Regions from separate parts of the Homo sapiens genome. Here all the other regions are linked to region 3. Evidence: promoter capture Hi-C in human tissues and cell types (Jung and others, 2019). All regions are on one chromosome and are shown on one strand. The core of a region is centred on a gene start or on the middle of the fragment in contact, and the rest is flanking DNA. Distances in the headings are between cores, read along the strand shown. Region 1 overlaps GABRG3 (gamma-aminobutyric acid type A receptor subunit gamma3). Region 2 overlaps GABRG3 (gamma-aminobutyric acid type A receptor subunit gamma3). Region 3 holds the start of GABRG3 (gamma-aminobutyric acid type A receptor subunit gamma3).

Evidence for each region. The method cuts DNA at HindIII sites, captures the fragments that hold promoters and counts their contacts. A contact is called where the count stands out against the background at its distance.
Region 1: a contact is called between a fragment that was not itself captured here and the fragment with the promoter of GABRG3 in region 3, in 1 of the 25 tissues and cell types used here (dorsolateral prefrontal cortex).
Region 2: a fragment that was not itself captured here is called in contact with the fragment with the promoter of GABRG3 in region 3 in 1 of the 25 tissues and cell types used here (dorsolateral prefrontal cortex).

What each region holds. Positions count from the first base shown.
Region 1 is chr15:27,349,678-27,353,387 of GRCh38, forward strand. All of the region lies in intron 5 of GABRG3 (gamma-aminobutyric acid type A receptor subunit gamma3), which reads left to right. Among named protein-coding and RNA genes, the nearest start is that of GABRG3-AS1, 190 kb to the left of the region's middle. The HindIII fragment of the contact is 6,669 bases long and covers 1-3,710 here.
Region 2 is chr15:27,371,091-27,374,580 of GRCh38, forward strand. The region is part of intron 5 of GABRG3 (gamma-aminobutyric acid type A receptor subunit gamma3); the gene reads left to right. Among named protein-coding and RNA genes, the nearest start is that of GABRG3-AS1, 210 kb to the left of the region's middle. The HindIII fragment of the contact is 4,328 bases long and covers 1-3,490 here.
Region 3 is chr15:26,969,774-26,973,458 of GRCh38, forward strand. GABRG3 (gamma-aminobutyric acid type A receptor subunit gamma3) reads left to right here and starts at 1,408. Exons shown (of 10, transcript NM_033223.5): 1 at 1,408-1,815. The coding sequence starts at 1,763. The HindIII fragment of the contact is 15,270 bases long and covers 1-3,685 here.

The DNA.
Region 1 (3,710 bases), core at 1,085-3,584, 380 kb after region 3:
TTTAGTTAGGATAACAGAATCCTGTCTGCTTCCACAGCCTTGTGGAAAGTTTTGCACAGGCACAGTTTATCAAATAATTACAGAGGAGAACTGAGAGGCTTCATAGAGCCTGTGAATTTAGAGAAACCTAGACTCTGGGAAAGCAGTTGCACTGGATTCTCTCTCCCCGGGACATGTCCTTTCTGGCTCTCTATAAAGTTGCAGAACCATGTTTATCTTTTTGTCATACCTGACTGCATCCTTTACTGCCCTAAGGTCTTTTTTTTTTCTTCAGTGACAATAACAAAAAAAAACCTAACTTTCCCATCGGTACTCACTTCTGGCTACTTAAATAGTAGCCAAAAGATTACCAGGTTAGGGTTGCAGTTTTCCCCTTTATACACACAAAATCTCTAATTTAGATAAATTGTCACTCTTATCACGTTTTTCTTCCCTGCTCACTTTCCCAGCCACCATCTTGGCCTTCAGATTGTCTCTTCATGCATATCGCTGACGTTTAAAAGTTTCAAGCTTGATGGTGTCTTACAGATCACCTCCTCGGAGACTCGCTTCCATTCGTGGGGAAATGAAGGCTCAGAGAGGTTGCATTTGCCTCCATGGGGCCCACAGAGCTGGCTGGTGGTTGCTGTGAATTGGGAAATCACATTTTCTGACTTCTCATCGCGTGTTCTCACTACTCAACACTGGGAGGAACCATTGAATTAAAAGTTCAAAATCAACTCGATATTTTCCAATTGTTTCTTTGTTTTTTCAAATGGATATCAGTAAATAAAAATGGACACATTCAGTATAAGCAGAAGCCTTCTGTCCTCAGGGAGTTCGCAGTGCAGTTGCAGGTAGGACAGATGGCGAAGGCGTGGGAGAGCAGTTACCCACAGATGACCAGATGTGTGTGGAAACCCCCTCCTCTCTACGTCCAGGGAGTCTGGAGGGAGTCTGGAGGGAGTCCAGCGCATCAACACCACCAGGGCCAGCGCTGGAGGATGGACGGTGCATGATGGGCCCAGGAGAGGGAGAGAGCCTGGTGAGGAAGTCCCCAGAGCCATGGGGGAGGAAGACAGCCCCAGACCTGGCAGACACCTGGCACTGGCCTGGGGCGAGTGCTGAGGTGAGGACAGACAGGCTTTGTGGCCTGGGCTGACAAAGGGTCTCCACAGCCCTTTATCAAGCCAGGCAGCCATGTATTTGTCCTTGTGAATGGTGTGTGTGTGTCGTGTGTGTTTGTGTGTGTGTATCATGTGTGTTTGTGTGTGTGTATCGTGTGTGTATGCTGTGTGTGCATATGGTGTGTGTTTGTGTGTGTATGGTGTGTGAATGCATTTACTTGTGTGTATGGTGTGTATGATGTGTTTGTGTGTATGGTGTATGTGCATATGGTGTGTGTGTGTGTATGGTATGTGTGTGTATAGTGTGTGTATGGTGTGTGTGTATGGTGTGTGTGTATGGTGCGTGTGTTTGAGTATGGTGTGTGTGTATGGTGCATGTGCGTATGGTGTATTTGTGTGTATGTATGGTATGTTTGTGTGTATGGTGTTTGTGCGTGTATGGTGTGTGTGTTTGTGTGTATGGTGTTTGTGTGTATGGTGTGTGTGTTTGTGTGTATATGTTGTGTGTATGGTGTGTTTGTGTGTATGGTGTATGTGTATGGTGTGTGTGTGTATGGTATATGTGTGTATGTGTGAGTGCCTTTGTGTGTGTATGGTGTGTGTGTATGGTATATGTGTGTATAGTGTTTGTGTGTGTGTATGTGTGTATGGTGTGTGTGTATATGGTGTGTGTGTTTGTGTGTGTATGTTTGTATGGTGTGTGTATGGTGTGTGTGTGTTGGTATGTGTGTATGGTGTGTTTGTGTGTGTGTTGGTGTGTGTATGGTGTTTGTGTGTGTATGGTGTATGTGTGTATGGTGTGTGTGTATGGCGTTTGTGTGTGTATGGTATGTGTGTGTATGGTATGTGTTTGTGTGTATGGTCTGTGTGTGTGTATGGGGTATTTGTGTGTGTTTGTGTGTATGGTCTGTGTGTGTGTATGGGGTATTTGTGTGTGTGTGTATATATATGTGTGTATGTATGAGTGTGTTTATGGTGTTTGTATAGTGTGTGTTTGTGTGTATGGTGTCTGTATATATGATGTGTGTGTTTATGGTGTATGTGTGTATAGTGTGTGTGTTTGTATGGTGTGTTTGTGTATGGTGTGTGCGTATGTATGATGTGTGTGTATGGTGTATGTATGTATAGTGTGTGTGTGTTTGTGTGTGTATGGTGTGTGTTTATCGTGTGTGTATGGTGTATGTCTGTATAATGTGTGTGTATGGTGTGTGTGTGTATATATGATGTGTGGGTTTATGGTGTATGCGTGTATAGTGTGTGTGTGTATGGTATGTGTGTATCGTGTGTGTGTGTATGGTGCATGTGTGTGTATGATGTGTGTATGTATGGTGTGTGTGTATGTATGATGTGTGTATTGTGTGTTTGTGTATGGTGTGTGTGTTTGTGTATGGTGTGTGTGTTTGTGTGTATCTTGGATCCTTTTAAGACTGCGTGGCAGTGTAGGGATTCTGCCAGACCGTTCAGCTAATCTCCGTCTCGCGCTCACTGTTCACAGCGTAAATCCAGACCCATAGTGAGAGGAAGAGGACCCAGGGAGAGCACGATTATCCCCCGCACACTTCAAGGGGTGATGGGGTGGGATCTCTGCCAATTTCTCTTATTCCGTTAGCTGAAGCTTAGAAAAATAACCCAGGAAATCCCACAAGATGTAAATCCAGGGTGAGCCAAGCAGATTGATAGTCTTCTAATTAGTACGAAAAAGATTCGAGAATTGGATCCTAGGAATGAGAACACAGGGGCCGGCAGTGTGTCTGGATGAGGAACTGTGCCGCCTGCTGTTCAGGTGCTATTTCTGTCCGACCTGTGGGACAGGCGCTCACACCACCCCACACTGCCCCGGGGAGGCAGGCCAAGGAAGCCCCCTGCCAAGGCAGCAGCCACATACCAAACCGTTGGGTGATATCGGTCTTGGTTATTGGTCCCTAGGATTGTGCTTGAGAAAGGAGCTCAGTGTCTTCCCCATATGCCACGTTTCACGCAGATGCATGGGGTGATATAGCGCAAGGTGGAGGGTGCAATATGGGGCCCAGGTATAGCAACACCTAACTCATAGGACTATGGGGGGCGTAAAATAAGACTCCAGCACATGCTCACTTGGTAAGTCATTGCATCTGCATTATCTTATCATCACGATTGCTGACAATGAGCCATTGAAAGCGAGTGGATCGTTTGATGGTTGGGTGTTAGGTATTTGAAGTGTGACGTCTACAAACCTCCCGACTTCTGTGTTCCTTCATGTTCTTTTCCCTTTTTATTACACAAAAACTCCTCCTTTGCAGACCTGAGAATTGTCCTTGATGTTTTTCCTTCCCTCCCTCACTGTCTTTGTAGGGACCCTGGCAGTTCCCTCTTGCCCCTACCTGGGCACCTACACACTGTTCTCATCAGAGTAGACACACTGGTCAGCTGTGTTCCTGTAACCAATCTCCATCTCACTGGGAACAAAAGGCCAGTCCTAACCATGGCCCCAAGGCTTCCCAGTACCTGCCTAGCCACTCTGCTTGCTCCTGCATAGGCTCAGCCACAGGGCGCATGTGTGTCCTACACTTGCTGGGCATGCCTGCCTCAGGACCCTGCAGCAGCTCTTCTCTTACACCGGTGAAA
Region 2 (3,490 bases), core at 469-2,968, 400 kb after region 3:
TTGATGGCCAGTACACCAAGTTCCATTGTTGGAAACTCCTACCAGAATTAGAAACAACATTTTGTGGAAAAAAAAAAGGTATGCTGTTTAGACCACACTCTCTGAACATGTTTGCTCCCCAACTAAATTAGCAACCATCGATAGAATATGCCACAATTTTTCTTCCTCTCTTTTCCCTGAGACAGTGAACATTTTTTTTTCTGAATTGTATGTCATGTTTTCCCAGCCTGTCTGCAGTTCCCCAGTTGTGAATGTGTCACTAATCTCTTTCAGCCTTGGTGAGGCGATGCATATAAATTCATAAAGGAAATTCCTGATCACATTCTGTAAAAAGAAGATTATTTAGAAGCAGGAATCTATTTTGATAGAAGGAAAATCTAACCCTTTTTATAACTGCTTCTCTCTCTCCTTGTAGTTTGTGGTATTGAAGGTGGCCATATCTAGTTAATAATGCAAATCACAATACAAGGGCACCATTTGTAGTTAAGGTTAAATGATCTTCCAAGGCTTTTACTAATTGGCTGCCACAGACAAGCTGTAAAGGCAACTCGTTTCTATGGATTCTGACTTTTCTTGTTTGCATCCAAGTCTGTATATGTGAGGAGGACAAAAGGATTAGAAAGGGGTGATCTAGTTCCCTAAATCTCAGTTCTGTGCAAACAATTATAATGAATTCATCATCTCACATATATTAATATTTTATATAAACATATTTTAGAAAACACAAAATAACACTAAATATTCAAAAGTATCATACTATTTAAAATTAGAACATAGACGTGATGGGCAACATACAATTTGATAATGTTAATTCATTTAGATAGGTTAAAAACAAAGTGACATGCTGGATCTTTTTGTAAAACAACAAGAAATAGTCCTAGTAAATATCACTTCGATGTGGGCTTTAATTGCTTTTACTGTAATTAATACTGTTCAGTATTAATTGCTTTAATTGGCTTAGAACATAATTAGTAATATTTTATTAAGTTAATAAAAACCTCACGTATTGCACAAAATTATACTTAAGTATTAACTCAGCATTAAGCTTTAAGCCATGTATGTTTCATATGAGATATATATATATCACTATTATTCTGACTTCATTTTTAATTTTAGGAAAAACCAATATTTGAAATAATATCAGGAGTTTAGATGGGGCTAAAGATAATACTTGTATGTGTTTTGCGTCTGTTTTATCAGTATAACCTAGTTTGATAAACAACTGCACATTATTTACAAGAAGGAGCTGCTTACAGCCATAGAACACTTTGATTTTCATTTAAACTTTTTGTATTTATTTATTTATTTATTTAGTTTTTAGAAACAGGGTCTCGCTCAGTCACCCAGGCTGGAATGCAGTGGAGCAGTCATAGCTTACTGCAGTCTCAAACTCCTGGAGTCAAGCAATCCTCTCACCTCAGCCTCCCAAGTACCTGGGATTACAGGCACATGCCACCAGGTCCAAATCATTTTTTATTTTTTATAGAGATGGGGCCTCGTTTTGCTGCCCAAGCTGTTCTCAAACTCCTGGTTTCAAGTGATCCTCTTGCCTTGGCCTTCCGAAGTACTAGGCCACCGTGCCTGGCTTTAGTCCCCTTCTTAAAACTTAAGTCCACCACTAAATTTAAAGAGTTACTGTCATTGTGCCTGTTTCAATGGTCCAGCTCAAACTCTGTCTCCTCTTTGAATACTTCCCTGGCCTCTTCATACTCACTTCCCTCCTGGTGCCTCTGTCTCTCTCCCAGTCCCAGAACACTGTACCTTGAGTGGTTGTCACTGTACCTGTGAACTCTTTTTAGGCATTAGCCATAGGGTGGTGAGCTTTCTTCTTCTCAGCTACATTGCTTGGCAATGACTTCAGCTGTGGCCTCCAGCAAGCTATTTTCTCAGCTGGTTCAGTTTTCTTCACCTACAAAATGCTCATGACTTCCCTTGCCTACTTTACAGTATTGTAAAAGAGACAGCACGCAAATGCCACTAAAATGCAGTGAGAAGGGTGACGTGTACTAGAGAGACCCTAGCCTGGGATTTAGGATGCTTGGGCTCCAACTCTTAATCAGGAAAAGGTGCCTAATCTTTCTGAGTGTATTTCTACCTAGGAAATAACGAACTTGAATTATATGCTTCTAAATTATAATTTTCAAAAACTTAAGATGATTCTTATGAATATAAAATAAATACTGTCAAGTGTTTTTATCAACTCATTAATAAATAAGGAACTCAGTAAAATGACAATACCAGTTAAAGGAGCATTTAAGGAACTAGGCATTTGTAGAAAATTGAATAAAGATATGTTAAGGGAAAAGATTGCTGTATTAGATACAAACCTAGTAAATCCCTACAGGGAAATAAACCACAATCTTCCAGGCTATCTTTTCTGCCAGACAGAAATTATTTGGATCTCTGCTAGGCAAAAATTTACAAGTTAGCAAGTAACTTCACTATATTTGGGATGTTGAATTAATAGTTTTAACAATGTCTATTAAAAGGGCTTTTCCAATTCTAAAAAGCCCTGAATCAATATTACTAGCACTTAATTATATTAATGGTAATTCAATTACTAAAAAAAAATTACTTTGAAAATCTGACCTTTAGCAACTTCTGGCGCTTACTTTGCTGTTTGTTTTTGTTAACCCTCATATTACAAGAAAGTAAGTTTTCTCTCCGGATGATTTATGATTAAAACATGGATAATTTTATCTATAAACATTCAAATTATCATGAAAACACCAATAAAGGAGAATCCTCATCAGTTCTCCTGATCAGGTCAGCTGATGTTTTTTGTTTTTTTTCTCTGAAACACTATTACGTGTTGGCCACAATCTCCATGTAATATTAATCTGCTACCATCTAATATCTGCTTTCTAATACCATCTAATATCTTCATGTTTCATTATTTTGTTATTTATTTTCTCATCTCAGAGGAGATTCCAAAGTTCTTTAGTTTTTTAAGAATTCTTATGATTTTATAAATGCAATTCTAATTATCTTTGTCAAAAGGAGTTCAATCTGATGTATCCTAGAATTTTCTTTCCTTTTCTTTTCTTCTTTTTTTTTTTTTTTTTTTTTTTCAGTGTGTCACCCAGACTGGTGTGCAGTGGCAAGAACATGGCTCATTGCAGCCTTGACCTCCTCAGGCTCAGGTGATCCCCCCACAACAGCCTCCTGAGTAGCTGAGACTACAGGTTTGCACCACCATGCCTGGCTAATTTTTGTATTTTTTGTAGCAACTGTTTCACAGTGTTGCCCAGGCTAGTCTCGAACTCCTGGACTCAAGCAATCCTCCTGCCTCAGCCTTCTAAAGTGCTGGGATTATAGGCATGCACCACGGCACCAGTGAATTTTCTATTGATATATTTCCAATTTGAAATTTAGGAATCTATCTAATATTTTATTTGCCTGTTTTCAAGTTTGTTCTTGTTACACATAAACTAACATTTTATCCATACACCCTGGTTGTATATTGTCTATGCATTTCTATTGTTTAAGT
Region 3 (3,685 bases), core at 158-2,657:
CATCATCTAACTGATTTTTAAAGTGCTCAGATTTTGGTACAGAAAATTAGAGATTAGGGCAGAGTATGATAAAGGCTCATATTCCCCTGAAGCCTAAAGGAGTGGTACAGGTGTTGGAAGTGGAAGAATGCAGGAGCGTCAGAGTCTTCATCAAAGAGGGGACCTTATAGGGCATGTGCACCTAAGTAGGAGGGATGTGCTGGGCAGAGGAGGATGAGAATGCCAGAAAGAGTCCTGGAAAGGCGGGGAGCTGGGTGAGTTCAGCACCTCACAGAGACAGAAAGGTGATGCCAGGGAGATGACAGCTCCATTGTTGAAAAACAATATTGTCATTAACAACTGCACTCCCCTCCACTTCATGCCTATCCAGAAACAAGGGGGAACACACCAGAGGAATACAGGCCCATGCCACCATGCCCAGCTAATTCTTTACTATTTTTTGTAGAGACAGGGTTTTTGCACATTGCCTAGGCTGGTCTCGAACTCCTGGGGTCAAGTGATCCGCCTGCCTCGGACTCCCAAAGTGCCGGGGTTACCGGCTTGGGCCACTGTGCCTGGCCGAACAAAGCTATTTGACAATATTAAAGAAACAGTTATCACACCCTTACATAATTCTATGAATAGCAGTTATAAAACATTTTCTAAGAACTTTTTGGGGGTGATAGAAATGTAAAATTCCTAGTGGATTTACTACACTGTTGCGATTGCAATACTTACATGGTGCAAGACTAACTTTCTGAATGATTATGACAAATGAAAGCGTAAATGCCATTTTCGGTTTTTGGAATATGAAAATACATGGAATGAGGCGCACCTCATGCTTCCACCAAACGGAACGTCTTTGGCTTCTTGCCTTAGGATCTTTCTAGCTCCTACCTTTAACATGCCTTTCCACCTCTACTGTTTATTGCTATGTGTTAGTCTCTCTTTTCTGTAAGAAAGGCATAAATCTGGGGTGCTTTTTTCCCAAATATTCCCGCAGAAAGCCACCTTTCCAAGCACAGAATCTTATCAGTGCCTAGGAGTTCAGCCGACTTAGCACGAAGAGTGCGATGGAAGGGCTGCTTTTGGCAAACCGTCTCAACCCCGGGCGACGGCGGGCACGGGAGGTCAGGGAGCGCTGGAGGAAACCTGCACTGGGGTAGAAATGGCTGGAGGAAGGCGGACCGCGGGCTCGCTCTCATGGTGCCAACCCCGGGGACCTTTCTTCAGGCTCCCTGCGGGATCCCCAGCCTCCCCTCCCCCTCGGAGCTCCGCCCCCTTCCTGGCCTCAAACTCCGAGTCCATTCAAACCTCGCCTTCCTCGCCCTGCGCGTTGTCAGGCGTGTAATTGGGGAAACTCCTCCCCGCCGGGACCGCCTCGGAGGCGCTGCCAGGGGACAGCCGCCCAGCTGCCCCCACCTCCCAGCACAGCGCACACAGCCCCGGCCTGGGCACCCGCGCCCGCTCGCGGCTCCAGGCGGGGTGGGCGGCGCCGCGCCAGGGGGTCCCCGGCGCCCATTGCTCCCGCCGCCCGGTTGCGCGGACCGGCGCTAGTGCGCGGGTGGGGGCGGCGCGCCGCGGTGGCCCGGCGTCCCGTGTGCGTCCAGTGTGCGCCCCGCGGGGGCGCGGCCAGCGCCAGAGTAGATACCTGTCCCGCCCGCCGCGGCCAGCAGCCTCGGAGGAAGCCAGGGCAAAGAGGGCCGGCGGAGACCAGGTCCGCGCCGGAGGAAGCCGCGCCCGGCCGAGGCCCCGGACCCTGCGCCCCGAGCTCCACGGCACCATGGCCCCGAAGCTGCTGCTCCTCCTCTGCCTGTTCTCGGGCTTGCACGCGCGGTAAGTGGCGCGGGGGCCGCATCCCCGGAGGCCCCGAGCTGGGCGACAGGGCGGCGGGGGGCGCTGTCTGCTGGAGTCCCTGGCGCGCCAGCCGTCGGCTGGGCTGCGGCACGGCGGGCCGGGAGGGGACTGGGAAGTCGGTCTGCACCTCACCTGTCCCAGCTCCCTTGGACACGGTCATCTGCTTTTTCCTCTGCAGCCGGGAGTGTGGGGACTCAGATTAATGGGCTCGTCTCCTGACGCTTTTAGGATCTGGTGGTTTTAAGGGGTTTTGAGAACCAGGTTCAGGGGGCAGGGGCCATTTCTGGCTCCTTACCGACCCCTAATTCCCACCTCAGCTGTTTCAGGGGCTCACACACACACACACTTTGGCTGACATTCTCTGTCATTTCCATCACTCTGAAATTTCCAAGAACCCGGGAACCGTGGTTCTAACTGCCTAGTTTAGACCGGGCTGGAAAGAGCTAATGCATTGGAGGCAGGCGCGGGGGGATTGGAACCAGGTGGGCAGAAGAAAGCCCTGCTTGTCTGGGAGGACTCCCCTCCCAGGTCCTGCAAACACACACACACACCTTCCACATCAGCCACTTTCACACAGAGGAACACACGCACTCCCACCCCCATAAAGCACGCATGTCGAAATGGATAATAAGGCTTCTGCCTGGTAATGTAAGAAATCATCTCACCATAAATTCCGCAACCTTCCTCCCAGTACACCAACCGGCTAATGGGAGCTTAGAATCACTCTAGAAGAGATGAAGAGGGCGCATGAGGATACAAGGACAGTGGGACCCAAAGGGTTAAATCCTGTTGCTGTAAACACAACTGGAGATTCTGGGTTTAGTTTCTTTAATTCTGTCTCTCTGGCTGGATTTCTGGCTAGAGCTTGCAGACTGTCCTGTTATTTGAAAATTGGAGCAGTGTCTGGCCTTTACCTCTTTCCCCACCCTAGGAAGCTCAGCGTGCCCCTATCCCCCAAACCCTCTTGTTTTGACGCTTCTCCATTTCCTGGGTCTGGGAGCTAGAGAATCAGAGGGCATCCTTGCGTGCACAAGCCTGGCCACCATCAGGAGGCAATGCCAGGAGGCCTTGCCTTTTCATTCCTATTTGTGAACTACCAAGGAGCTAGGAAGACACATGAATAAATCCTACTAAACATGAAGGGGGCCCCCAGTTCTCACTCCTGAATTGGGCAGGGGTGCTTACCCTGAGGAAGGAAGCCCTGGCCCTCCCCCTTGCAACTGCTCCTCTTTGCTGAGTTGAGTGTGGAAGCCGACTCCACCGGTGACTCACAGGCAACTCTTTCAAAGAGACAGAGCACTCCTTGGGCCTTTCAGCTGAAGTTTCTTTCTGTCTCAAGAGGCAGCTGGTGCAAGCAATGGAAACATGCTTTCTGAGGTTGCTTCTTCCTGGTTGTATCTCTGTTTAGAGATGGAGAGGGAGGCAGACAGCACCGGGCATAACGCTGAGGCCGGCAGTCACATCTCTGCCACCTTTCTATTGCCACCAACTCAAACGAGTGACCAGCCGTTCAGGGTTCAGTAATCAACTGTTTAGGTCTCTGGATTCTTAACATTCTAGAAGAAACACTGCCTATTGTCCTCACTACTGCATGTGCTTAGTAGGAAGATACCTCAGCCTCTGCCTTAAAACAGTCCGGTTACTGGGGATTCCCAAATATACACAAAATCTCTTGGGATTCTTCATCCTTCCATTCTACTAAGACAGACATAATGATTTTCATTTGTTCTCTATTTGGGCTCGTTCCCCAGCTTTCATAATAGAGCTTGCAGATCAGTTAAAAAATCCAAATTTTATACTAACTTTATTGCTATATGCCTCTTCTTTGAGAGTGTCTTTGTTCTCTGAA